2 separate regions of the Homo sapiens genome follow, and region 2 is linked to region 1. Evidence: promoter capture Hi-C in human tissues and cell types (Jung and others, 2019). All regions are on one chromosome and are shown on one strand. The core of a region is centred on a gene start or on the middle of the fragment in contact, and the rest is flanking DNA. Distances in the headings are between cores, read along the strand shown. Region 1 holds the start of DNLZ (DNL-type zinc finger). Region 2 overlaps COL5A1 (collagen type V alpha 1 chain).

Region 1 (6,243 bases), core at 2,628-5,127:
GACCAGCCCCCAGAAGCAGCAGCCCCCAGGTCAGCCCCACGACCCCCTGAGGACCCAGCCTGCTGCCGCCCACCCAGCACCCGGGGGAGGGAGGTCCTTTCCTGGAGTCTGATCCGGCTGGGCTCAGGGTCTGGACACTGAGCCACAGTGGAGGAGCCGACGGCAGATCTGCAGTCTTGGGGCTTGTCTGGGCGCTGCTTGTGGTGGGTGGCACCCCCACGGGGCCCCCGTCAGGGGACACACAGGTGCGCCGGGCAGTCCTGCTGCCCCTCGCCACAGCCCACCTGGCCATGTTGGCAGCCACAGCCTCTGTGCTGGTTGACTCCGTTGCCTCCTCCACCCCAGAAGGGGCCTTGGGAACCAGAATCAACGTGTACTCCAGGTCCAGGGTCCCAGCCAGCTTGCGTGTGGTGGTACACGCACACAGGGTCCAAGTAACCGTGCAGGGCCCAGGACCGCGCACAGCCAGGGAAGCGCAGCAGTGCCGCCCACGCTACTGGCTGGGACAGCCTCTGAAGGTGCGGCCGAGGAACCTGCTTGGAGAGACGCTGTGACGAGGGATGCCCAGGCCAGCAACCGTGCCCGGGAGGCAGGGATGTCCTGGGGCGGGGGGGTGTAGAGTGGCAGGAGATTAGGATGGCAAAGCCCCTTGCAGAAACCTGGCTGTGGGATTGGGGCTGCGGGGAGGGAAGGGCGGAGGGAGACAGGGTCCAGGGGGCCTCAGGCAGGAGCTGGCGGGATGCTTCTGGCACGCGGGGGGTAGCCATAGGTCTTCTCTAGGAACGTGCCAGCCTTGGGAAGGATTTCCCTCCAGGGCCAGCCTGGGCCCAGAGGTGCTGGCATCAGACAGAAAAGACATGGTAACGTCCACATCCCAACTACCAGCCGCCATCTCCCCATCCGTAAGAGGAGGGGTTGGCCCAAGCGGCTCTCCTTGCTCTAATTCTGCACTTCCAGGTCCAGACGGCTCCCTGGACCTCCCCACATGCTGGTCCAGGCCCTCTGGAGGCAGTGAGGCAGCCAAGCCAAGCCCAGCCCCACTGCACTTCCAAGCCCCCAAGAGACCCCCAGCCAGTGCCTCCATGGAGGAGCAGGCCTGGGTGCCGGTGGCTCAGCCGAGAAGAGGACAGTTTCCACAAATGGCACAGAAGGCTCTGGGTGGGAATAATAGAGGGTTGTTGGCTGAAAGAAGGACAGGGGGTAATCGAGGCAAAGCCCACGCCACAAGCACACTGGGAACGATGCCGCCGCGCCCCGGCCTCCCACGGGCCGGATGTGAGCTGGCAGTCCTGGCCGTGTCCCGCTGGGAGGGGCCGCACTGGGTCCCTGTCGTGCTCAGTCCTGCCTCCACCTCCCACCTCGCCCCATTCTCTTCCCTGCCGGAGTGTGGCGGGTGATGAATGCTGAAGGTTACGCTGCCCAGAACGCTTCTGCAAATAAACAGGCTGCTGTGTTTGCTCGCTTTCATAAACACGGGAACATCCTGCGCACAGACAAGGCTGGGAGACAAACCCCACACACCTCGGAGGGCCCTGGGGACGTCCAGAGCGCTGTCCACCGAGGGAAGGAGGCCCAGGTGGCTCCCCCGGGAGGGGTCTGGAGCTCCTAACACACGGCCACGCCATAGCTGCTCGTCCTGCCTGGGCCAGCAGGCAGCCTGGTTTGCTCACTGTTTCGCCGACGGCCGGCGGCCGAGGACCAGGGCTCAGGTCTGCACTGGCTCACGGAAGGGAGGCCGCCAGAGCTGGCCAGGGGGGCGGCAAGGGCCTTGCAGAGGAAGGCTGAGGCTCACAGGGGTGGTGACCTGCTCAAAGTCACGCAGCGACAGCCAGGAAGGGCTCTGACGCCACATCCAGCCCCCTTTCCACGCGACTGTGGCCTCTGTGGGCAAGAGCTGGGTGACTCTGTGTAGAAGGAACTGTGGTGAGGCGAGAGGTCCTGCGGCTCCTATGTCCCACCCAGCAGCACCAGGGATTCAGAGCAATCGTTCTAACTCCAGAAAAAGAAAGGCCACGAGGGCCACAGGCCCCAGCATCTGGAAGTAATGTCTGTTTATTGATAGAAAACAGGCCACGTCCAGAGAGGCCCAGGGCCAAAACCTCCTTCTGGAAGGCCGAAGTCCCACAGTGCCGGGGAGCGCAGGAGTCAGCTCGGCTCCGTCTTGCCAGGGCTGGGGGGACCCTCATCCTCACCCGCTTCCGGAGCTGCAGTGGATGTGGGGGCCCCTGCAGCCTCCAGAACCAGTTCCAGGGCCCCCTCGCCCGCCACACGGTGCACCTGCTCGCCTCTGGCCGTCAGGATCTCTTCGATATTTCTGGGGGGCAGGGAGGCAACATGGCTCTTCAGGGCCCCCCAGCCGCCCTGCACTTCAGTCCCCTCAGGGCGCCCCATGGCCAGGCCAGAGCTGCAAGCACCAGGCCCAGCACTCCTGTGGCATCAGGCCACACGGGCACTTCAGACGCTGGCCTGTGTGCCCTCACCAGCCCTGTGTCTCTGCCGGTATGCGCCGCCTCAGGAACCCAGTCTCCTGCTCCTGCCCCCTATGTGCCAGAGGGAAGAATCTGCAGCCCCGGGTCTGATGGGAGGACAGTCCCAGCTCCAAGGGCCAGGTACCACCAAGCACCTGGCATGCTGGTCTCAGACCTGCTGTCGCTGTTACTGTCCTGCCCAGGACCTCCCGGCCAGGCAAGGCCCGGACCAGGCTCCCGGCACCACCTCCACTGCTCTCCCAGCAGCCAGGGCCCAGGCCACACCTCCTGGTCCACACCCCAAGCCTTGCTGTGGGCCAGCCACCCCAAGATGGCAGAGGGCAAAAAAGTTCCACGCTAGAGAGGGACAAGGCTGCCAGTGATGGCAGAGGGCAGGCAGAGGCAGGGAGGCAGGGCCACAGGGCTGGCAAAATTTAACAAATAAAAACGCACCCCCTACTTGGGGCATACTTAAACTCAAAAGCTATCTGGGCTTTATAGGAAATTCTCATTTAACTGTGTGTCTTGTATTGATAAGGTGGCTGGATTTCCCAGGTGAGATCTATAAACCTCAACACTAGGGCAAGGTTCCCCCAGGGAGGCCAGGGTACTTCTGGGTGGCCTTCTGGCCCAGCCCTGGGGTACAGGCCTCACCTCTTCCCATTCAGGTCCGAGAACCAGCCCAGGTTGTCAGCGATGATATGGTGGTTCTGGCAGCCGGGGCAGGTCACAATGACCACGCCTTGGTGATAGGCCAGCTTGGAGATGCGCTTGGAGGACCTAGTCCCGCAGACCTGGCTGGGACAGGGTAGCTGGTGAGGCTGTGAGGGCCGCCACGCCCCTCCCGGGAAGACCCGCCCCTCTAGGGGTAGCTCCAGCCACCTCACCCTCTCCAGAGAAGGCCCCGCCCCCGAGGGATAGCTCCACCCACCCCCAACCTCGCCCTCTCCCGGGAAGGCCCCGCCCCAGGGACGGCTCCACCCCTCCTCATGGTCCGCCTCCGCTCCCTCCCAGAAGCCCCAAGGGGTGGCTCCACTCCTTCCTGTGACTTGACCACGCCGCCTCCCGGATCCCCGGCGGGCCGCTTCTCCCCGCAGGCCGTGTAGCGTCAGATACGGGTCTGTCCCCGGTTCCGTCCCGCCGCGCGCCTACCTTGCAGGTGTAGACGAGCTGGTAGTGCGCCGCCTCCACGCGCCCCAGAGCCGCCGCGGGCCCCGGCCCCTGCTCGGAGCTTGAGCGCCGCCAGCCCCAGGCCCAGGCCCGCCGCCTCCCCGCGACCTCTGGACGGGCCCCGCGGCCCCACAGCCGCCTCAGGCAGGGCGCCCGGGGCTGCACGCGACTCAGCAACCTCGGCGCGCCGCGCAGCGCAGTCCGCAGCATCCCGCTCGCCGGCTCCGTCCGCCCTGCCCCGGCCCCGCCCCGCCGCCATCTTGGAAGTGGGCGCCGGGCGGAAGCGGCGTTCTTGGGCTTCCGTCTTCCGGGTCGGGGGCGCGCTGCGCTATGCCGCCCCCTGGCGGCCTGAGGGGGCCCTGCGTCCACGTGCAGCTCGCACCCCGAGGACACCGCGGGCCGCAGCGAGGAGGGACGGCCGCGGGGCTGCGCGCGAGTGTCCGAGCGGGAATGCGGGTCACCCGTGCTGTTTATTTACGCAGCTGTGTTTTCTAACACTAATACAATGCATGCATGTATTGTGTGTTACATGGTGAAACAGAACAGATCCTGAAGTTACACAGATGGCGTGTGCATGGGGGTGGTGAGCACCCGCATGGCCTCCGCAAAATGAGTGCCGCTTAACAAACGGCCCCAATGCCCGGCAGTCCGGCTGGGCCTTTCAGGGCACCAGATTCCTCGTTCCAGGCCAAGTCAGCGACGGCTCGGGGAAGTCTGCGCCCCAGGGCGTCGGCACCCCCGGGTGGCAGGAGGCCGGGCCGGTGGGTGTGCCCTGGTCGGGGCCTGCGCTGCTGCGGCTAGGAGCCCTCAGTGTCGGTGTTGTCGCTGCCCGTGGTGTTCTCCCGGTCCTCCTCCCCCTGCCGCCATCCTTTCTGCATCTTCCTGAGGGCGCGCTTCCTGTGAAGACAGGTGTCTCAGGCGCGACCCGGCTGCCGCTCCCCAGCCCGTTTTGGAGAAGCCTGGGGGCCGCCCGCCTACCTGCGGTAGTTCTCAAAACTCTCTTTGAGGCGCCGCCGCTCCTTCTCGGGCGGCTCCCCGCTGCTCAGGCCTGCGTCCTGGAGAAGGGGGAAGGCTCGGGCTCCGGCCGGCTCCCCTGAGGGAACCCGTCCTTCTCACCCGCCCCCCACTGGCCCCTGTAACTGCAGACTGGTTGGGAGGCGAGGAGCCCAGACAGCCTCAGCTCAGCGCCAAGCTCTCCCTGTGGGACCTGCCTGTACCCCTGGAGGTGAGCCGGTGTGGGTAGCCTGCATTTCAGATGCCAAGACACACCCAGGAGGCCAAGCCACGGCTCCAGCCTGGGGTCCGGGCCATTGTTTCTACAACAAAGCCCGAGGTGGTGCTTGCTCTCAGGACTCCTGTGTTCACCTCCTCATCCACTGTAAAGGCCCTCGGAAAACCAGGACCAGGCACATCCACGTCCAAAAAGCCCCCCAAGCTGCTGCAGTGCCCAAGAAAGGGGGATCCACTTCGCAGCCCAGACACCGCACCCCGAGCACTGTGGGCAGAGACCTTGTGGTCACTCCTCAGCTGTCGTCGGGGCCACCGCAGGGGGTGCCCAGGGCAGGGAGCCACTCTCCCTGTGATCGGTCACCCTGAGGCCCACGGCTGGGAGGACCCCACCCCGGGGAAGCCTTACATGGGGGTTCCGCAAAACCTGCTCCTGGTGCAGAGCTGCAAAGGGCTGTTTCGGGCTCCCCCCGCCGGCAAGGCAGCCTGGAAAGGAGAGTCGTGCCTGTGGGACCTGCCCATCTGCTGGGCCACGTATAGCACGGCTGCCCCACCCCTCCCCGGCATTGCAGTGGGGCTGTCTTCCAAGGCCTGGTGGGATCCCCACATGGGTCCAGTGTAGACTCTGCTTTCTGTAGATGAGACTGAGGCCTTATGGCCTCGCTTGCCTGTTCATTGCTCCAGGAGGCCGCCAGATGCCAGCCCAGGCCCAACGCTCCCGCCAGTGACCATCCCTCCCCCGAGCTGGCTGCCTGCCAGGGAGGAACGCCTCCCAGACCTCGGGGGAACTTAAACCCTGGGCCTGAGCAGCACCGTCCCCCATCACTCCAAAGCATCTGTGGGCATGGCGGCCCTGGGGAGAGAGTTGGGGACAGCTACAGTGGCTGTCTGGGTCCTCCTGAAGTGGGGGCAGGGGTACTGCAGCAATTGGGAGAGAACCTTCAGGCGGCTGGACCCCCTCAGAAACCGCCAGGACCTGGGCAGACCAGGGATCAGGACCCTTGGGCAGAAACCACGCACGTCCAGTCTCAGCCCCACTGCGGTGAGGGCCAGGCCAGGGCTGTCCTGGCCATTGGCAGCCCCTTAGAGCCAGCCCCTCCCCTGCTCACCCTCCAACCTTCACACCTGCCCCTGCTCCTGCCACAGCCACCCAGGGGGATGGGGGCAGTGCCTGAGCCGGACTCCTGGGTCCTGCTCGCCTCTGTGCCTACATGGGGGCTTGGCATCCCCATGTTCAAGTGTTCTGAGCTGCAGCCAAAGGCGCTGGTCTTCACTTCCCCGTCTGCGGCTCCTCCTTCCCCTTCCGCCTCTGCTTGGAGGCCACGGCCTGGTACTCAGGAAGCTTGTCCAACTCCGGTGCAGCCTCCCAGGACCCCTC
Region 2 (6,243 bases), core at 1,289-3,788, 1.6 Mb before region 1:
CCTCGATAGAAACACCCGGAAGGCAGGCGCCACCTCTGTGCTGCTTGTGAGCGCCCCCTACATCCATTCGCGTGTGTGCCCCAGAGCTGGTGTCCACGGATATTTGTGCCTAAGAAATGTTCCCTGTGATCAGAGCGTCTTTGAGGCGAGTCCCTTCCTTTCCCTTCCCCGTGTGCCTCTCCAAAAGCCTTGCACCCCAGGCACTCCTGTGTTTTAAGGCAGCTCCTGAATACCGTCCAGTGTTACTGTGGATTTGATTGCATTTTTCAGGATGCTGTGGCCAAACTCCTCCTGAATCTCCGCAGTCCACTGGAGAGTTTAACGTTTTCATCTAGAAATAAGCTTGCTTACCGTCTAATTGACTCCCGAGAGCGCCAGCTGGTGTTGACCAGCCACTCATCTATTGCTCTTAAGAGAGACTTCACACAGATCTTTCCACCTACAGCATATTTATTACTTTTGGGTAAAGTAGCGATCTGCTTCTGGGTCTGTGGGCAGGTCCCACCTGCTGGGGGGCCTGGATCCTCCTCTGGGAAGCCCCAGGGATTCAGTATGCAGGTTTCTTTCCCAGCCGCCTCAGGGTCAGAGTGGAGGCAGTTTCCCAAGCTTTCTCCAAATTGCCACACAGGGGCACCTCGCTCCCTGCACAGTGGGATGCATTTGATGCCTTGGGAGGAGGCCCCCACCCTTCAATGACCCCATTATGTGCAGAAGCAGCCTGGCAATAATGATGCTGCCCGGCGCTGTCTTATCAGCCCCTCCTGTCACTCAGCAGGGGCTCAAACCTTCTCCCCCTCTTTTTTATGTGTCCAGGATTAGCCTTCCCCATGGGATTTTGCGTGAGTGCATTTTCTGTGCCTTGAAAAGTTTCGTATGTAAGCCATGCCCTGAAAAACAGCAGTCACTACCTCCCAGCCAGAAAGTGTGGCTCACCTCTACCTAACAGGTTCTGGTGTGGTCTCCCCAGGACCAGCCTTGGGGTGATGCCCTGCTATGCCATCCCCTCCCCATGGCCTGCTGGTGCTACACCCAGGGTGGGAGAGGACACAGGCTAGATCACTGGCAACTTGACAGAGTGAGCAAGTCCACTCACGAGCACGCAGCTGCTGTCTGACTCCGAAGGAGTTAGCTTCGAGAAAAGCTGTGGGGAAGAAGCAAGCAGCATGGGATTCATTTGCTTTCCTGGCTCCCAGGCTCCTGTGGATGGGACACGCCAATCCAGTCTCTCCTTGTCTTTAGAAGTGTTCAGGACATCTTGGCAGAGCTGCTCAGAGAGGTTCACACACACACTCAAGCACACACGCTTGCACACTCACCCACACATGCACTCACATTCACATGCACTCATGCACACACACTCATGCCTACGTGCACGCACTCATGCATACATGCCCACACATGCATACATGCACACACTCAACCGTATATGCACACATGTACACACCCACACACGCACACACTCATGTGTACACGCACACACTCACCTATACATACACGTATGCATGCACAGTCACCCACACCTGCACACACTCATGCACACCCCCATACATGCACACTCACACCCACACATGCACACACATCCACATATACATGCATGCACACACACTTACACATGCACACTCACCCACACCTGCACACACACTCATGCACACACTCACCCAGACATGCACACAGGTACGCTCACACACATGCACACACATTCACACATGCATGCACACACCCATACATGCTCTCACACAGTTACACACACATGCACTCACACACCTGCACACACATTCATGCACATGCTCACTCATACATGCACACACATACACCCACACATGTACACACATTCGCACACTCATGCATGCATGCACACTCATCCATACACATGCACACACATTTACACACATGCACTCACACACCTGCACACACACTCATGCACATATGCACACACCCAGGCGTGCACGTGCACACACATCTACATGCACGCGTGCGCTGTCTGGGTTCACCTCCACACGGCCCTTCCATGGAGGCTGGTCTGCAGGCTTGTGTGCCCGAATCCCCAGCAGCCTGGTCGTGAATGACTTCTGGCCATTTCGAGTCACATTTATCTTCAAAGCTTAGTCCCCTGAGGCCACTGATAGGAATCTGTCCAAGCCTCAGGTGCCATACCAGGAGATCAGTGGGAACTGTGGGTTTCTCTGCTGTAGCCCTGGAGGCAGTGTGTGTCTCCCAAAGCGAGCTCAGTGTTGAAGATTCATTGGAGGGTATACATTATCATATGGAAAAGAAAATCAAGTACAGTTTGTGGAGAGAGAGGTGAAGGGAGCAAAGGCCTCGGGACATTTCTAGAGTGAAGGGACAGCTGGCAGGAGCTGCATGAATGGCGCCAAGTGCACTATGCTGTAGGACCCCATGCAGGGTCTGCCAGGGTGTTCATCACGGTCAGTTAGTGGCAATGGCTGGGTGAGTCCAGGAGTCTTTCTCACGTGGGCCCCTTAAGGCCGCAGGTCTTACCCAGAGCCCCGATTATTGGTGGCCTATGGATAAAGAGCCCCTCCTGTGGATTTTCTGGTTGTTAGTTCTGGTTGAGGGGTGCGGTCTGAGGCATCAGGCTTCTTGATAGGGCCCCGCTTCCAGTCTTTTAGATGGGCCCTAGGGCTCCTGGAAGAGTGTCTGTCTAGCTCTTGGAAGGGGCTCAGTAGGAACCCTCTCAATGAACGAACGAATGGTGGGTTCATTTCTTTGGGATCCTCGGACAATTGATGACCAACTTGGGGTTTAAAGCAACAGGAATGTCTTCTCTCTTAGTTCTGGAGGCCAGAAATCTGAAATCAAGGTGTAGGCAGGGCCGCACCCCCTCTGGAGGCTCCAGGTGAGGGTCTTCCTCACCTCTTCTGGCTCCTGGTGGCCACTGGCCGTCCTCTGCCCTTGTAGCTTGCCGGCGCATCTCTGCAGTCTCTGCCTCTGTCTTCACCCAGCCCTCCCCTGTGTCTCTGTCACTGCCTCCCCTCCTCTTCCCTTACAAGGACTCATCATTGGATTTAGGACCCAAGATCTCATCTCAAGATCCTCACTCCCATCCTCAAAGACCCCAAGTAAGGGCACAGTCACGTGTTTCAGGACCTGGATGTACCTTTGATGAGAGACCCTTCAGCCCACCGCGCGTGGTCATGCACGTACGTGTTCTGCACAGCCAGGAGATGTCCAGCAGGAAGTGACCACTGAGAGCTTCTCCCAGCCACTCCCGAGCTGGGCCTGCCCAGGGTCGGGCCTGGACAGAACCACATGCACACAAAGGTTCTGGAGAGACGCCTGCACACTGCCCTCCTGCTCCAGCTCTTTCCGAGAGTGGAAGGGAGCTTTTCAACACAAAGCCTCCTGCAGGCCTACAGCTCCTCCCAAACCTGCCACCACCATGAAGAGAAAAGGCTCAGAGTTCTCTGCTCACTGCTTTGACCCAAATCCCGGCCTGGAAAGAGGCCTTGTGCCTCTCCCCTGAGGTTGAGCCGAGGGTCTCGTGGGGACAGTTTCACGTGCTGAATCTGCAGTGGCAGAGGGAGCCACTTTGTGAGGCATCTGGTCACCCAGCCACATCGTCTCTGTGCAAAGGACGTCTGGACGTCCTCAGGAAAGAAACCCTGTTAGATACCAGTGGTGCCTTCATTTGGAAGTAGGCACCTGATTTCTTCACCTGGTATAGGTATGACACTGAGAGCCCTCCTGTGCCAGGGCCTTCAGAACATTGCTGTTTGACCAAGTTAGGGCACTGATTTGGGGGCCAGCTAATGGAGTAACAGGAAAATACATGCAAATAGCAAAGGCAAGGTGGGATTTCTTATTTTGCCATATTTTGCCTGTGGCTGGAGCCAAGCAGCATCCGCATGACCTGTGTGTGGGCCTGCTGGAGCGTTCCCTTGGTGTCTGACACCTGCCTTGTCGCAGACAACAGCCACATCGCTGGCCCGTGCTTTGTGTCATGAAAATTGGAAATGTGACTTTGAGGTGTAGCCGTGTCTTTCAGCCCAGGGGTCAAAGTCTTTACGTTAGAGACCACAGGGCTTGGCAAAGGCTTGCTGACAATGTTTCTAAGTGATAGCAAATGCAGGTTCATGTTGGTGGCCCTGAGGACTTGTGTCAAATTTGAACACTTCGGAAGGGTTCATGGGGGTGGCGACATTCTTTCCTTTCTTCTCCACACTGTCTCCTTCTTCTAGGACTTCACGTTATCCTTGTTCATCTACGTTCCCATTCTTTGGAATTGTTCCGGGTGTCGGTGAGAAGCGGCATCAGAGGGAAGTTGCTTTCACAGCCTGGGGATTGGATTTTCACCACCGTGGCTTAGAACAGGCAGGAAGGATGCTGAAAAGAGGGTCTTTGGAAATGGACAGCAGTGGACAAGGAGTGGCCTTGAGGAGACTTCCTGGCTTCCTACAGCAACACCATGTGAGCAGGAGCATGCATGCACAGACACACATGCACACACATGCATTCCCACACAAACGTACACATGCATACACACATGCATTCACACACATGCACACACGTACACATTCATATGGACGTTCACACATCCACACACACCTGCATATGCATGCATACATGTATTCACACACATGCATTCATACACACATGCATTCACACGCACATTCACACACATGCAGATACATGCACACATGCATTCATACACATGCAGACACATGCACACATGTATTCATACACACATGCAAACACATGCACACATGCATTCATACACACATGCAGACACATGCACACATGCAAACACATGCACACATGCATTCATACATGCAGACACATGCACACATGCATTCATACACACATGCAGACACATGCACACATGCGTTCATACACATGCAGACACATGCACACATGCATTCATACACACATGCAGACACATGCACACATGCATTCATACACACATGCAGACACATGCACACATGCATTCATACACACATGCATTCATACACATGCAGACACATGCACACATGCATTCACACACACATGCATTCACACACACATACACATGCATTCACACACATGCATTCATACACATGCAGACACATGCACACATGCATTCACACATGCACACACCCACAAACATGCATGCACAGACATGCATCCACACATGCATACACAGACATGCATCCACACATGCATACACATGCATTCACACATTCCACACGTGCACACACATGCATTCATGCATACATTCACACACATGCACACACCCCATGCATTCATATGCACACCCACACACATGCACACATGCATTTACACATGCACACACATGCCTTTACACATATATGCACATGCACACACACATGCATTGATAGTCACATACATGCACACACATGCATTCACACATTCACACACATGCACATACATACACTTACATTCACACATGCACACACATACACTTACATCCACACATACATGCACACACACTTACACACATGCACTGCACAGACAGCAGCTTGTCCTTGGGAGACACTGACCCCAAATCTTAAATGCAAGGTTTGGTTTGGAATTGATTCCGACACAGGAATCTCAGCTGTAAGTGGCTATGAGGATTGTATGTCAATGACAAAACCTGGGCGGCAAACATGTTTTGGATCTTTATTTTTTAAACACGATTTTTGTCTTCTGAGAGTGTTTTCCAAAATGGCAGTTGGGAGCAATTGGGCAGTATCCATTAGCAATTCAGAAATATACACATATATACATTCTTTGACCCAGCAGCACTGCTTTGAGGGACTTACCTAGTAGAATATGTTAGCACGTCTGTCGGGCAGTGTTTGTCATAATGCAAACTGGAACCAATCCAACGTGCATCGGCAGAAGACGGGTTAAATAAACAAGGAGTCCATTGTGCCTGGGAGATGCAACAGATGTTGCCAAGGATATCTACAGAGACAGGCCATGATTTCAAGAGCAAATTGCAGAATATTTAGGGACAGTATCATTAAAAAGAAAGAGACTGGGCGCGGTGGCTTATGCCTGTAATCCCAGCATTTTCGGAGCCCGAGGCGGGTGGATCACGAGGTCAGGAGTTCAAGACCAGCCTGGCCAAGGTGGTGAAACCCCGTCTCTACTAAATATACAAAAGTTAGCCCACGCTGGTGTGGACACCTGTAATCCCAGCTACTCGGGAGGCTGAGGCAGAGAATTGCTTGAACCGGGGAGGCGGAGGTTGCAGTGAGCTGAGATCATGCCACTGCACTCCAGCCTGGGCAACAGAGT

Evidence for each region. The method cuts DNA at HindIII sites, captures the fragments that hold promoters and counts their contacts. A contact is called where the count stands out against the background at its distance.
Region 2: a fragment that was not itself captured here is called in contact with the fragment with the promoter of DNLZ in region 1 in 1 of the 25 tissues and cell types used here (dorsolateral prefrontal cortex).

What each region holds. Positions count from the first base shown.
Region 1 is chr9:136,359,867-136,366,109 of GRCh38, forward strand. DNLZ (DNL-type zinc finger) reads right to left here and starts at 3,878. Exons shown (of 3, transcript NM_001080849.3): 1 at 3,621-3,878; 2 at 3,123-3,262; 3 at 1-2,314. The coding sequence starts at 3,848. The coding sequence ends at 2,146. It overlaps CARD9 (caspase recruitment domain family member 9), which reads right to left. Exons shown (of 13, transcript NM_052813.5): 11 at 5,275-5,351; 12 at 4,617-4,693; 13 at 4,090-4,535. The coding sequence ends at 4,436. It overlaps LOC124902309 (a long non-coding RNA gene), which reads left to right and starts at 3,503. Exons shown (of 2, transcript XR_007061863.1): 1 at 3,503-3,586. RefSeq lists silencers at 3,234-3,513, 3,614-4,113, 4,144-4,243 and enhancers at 4,455-5,345, 5,346-6,235. The HindIII fragment of the contact is 10,875 bases long and covers 1-6,243 here.
Region 2 is chr9:134,742,979-134,749,221 of GRCh38, forward strand. The region is part of intron 11 of COL5A1 (collagen type V alpha 1 chain); the gene reads left to right. Among named protein-coding and RNA genes, the nearest start is that of COL5A1-AS1, 93 kb to the left of the region's middle. The HindIII fragment of the contact is 7,573 bases long and covers 1-6,243 here.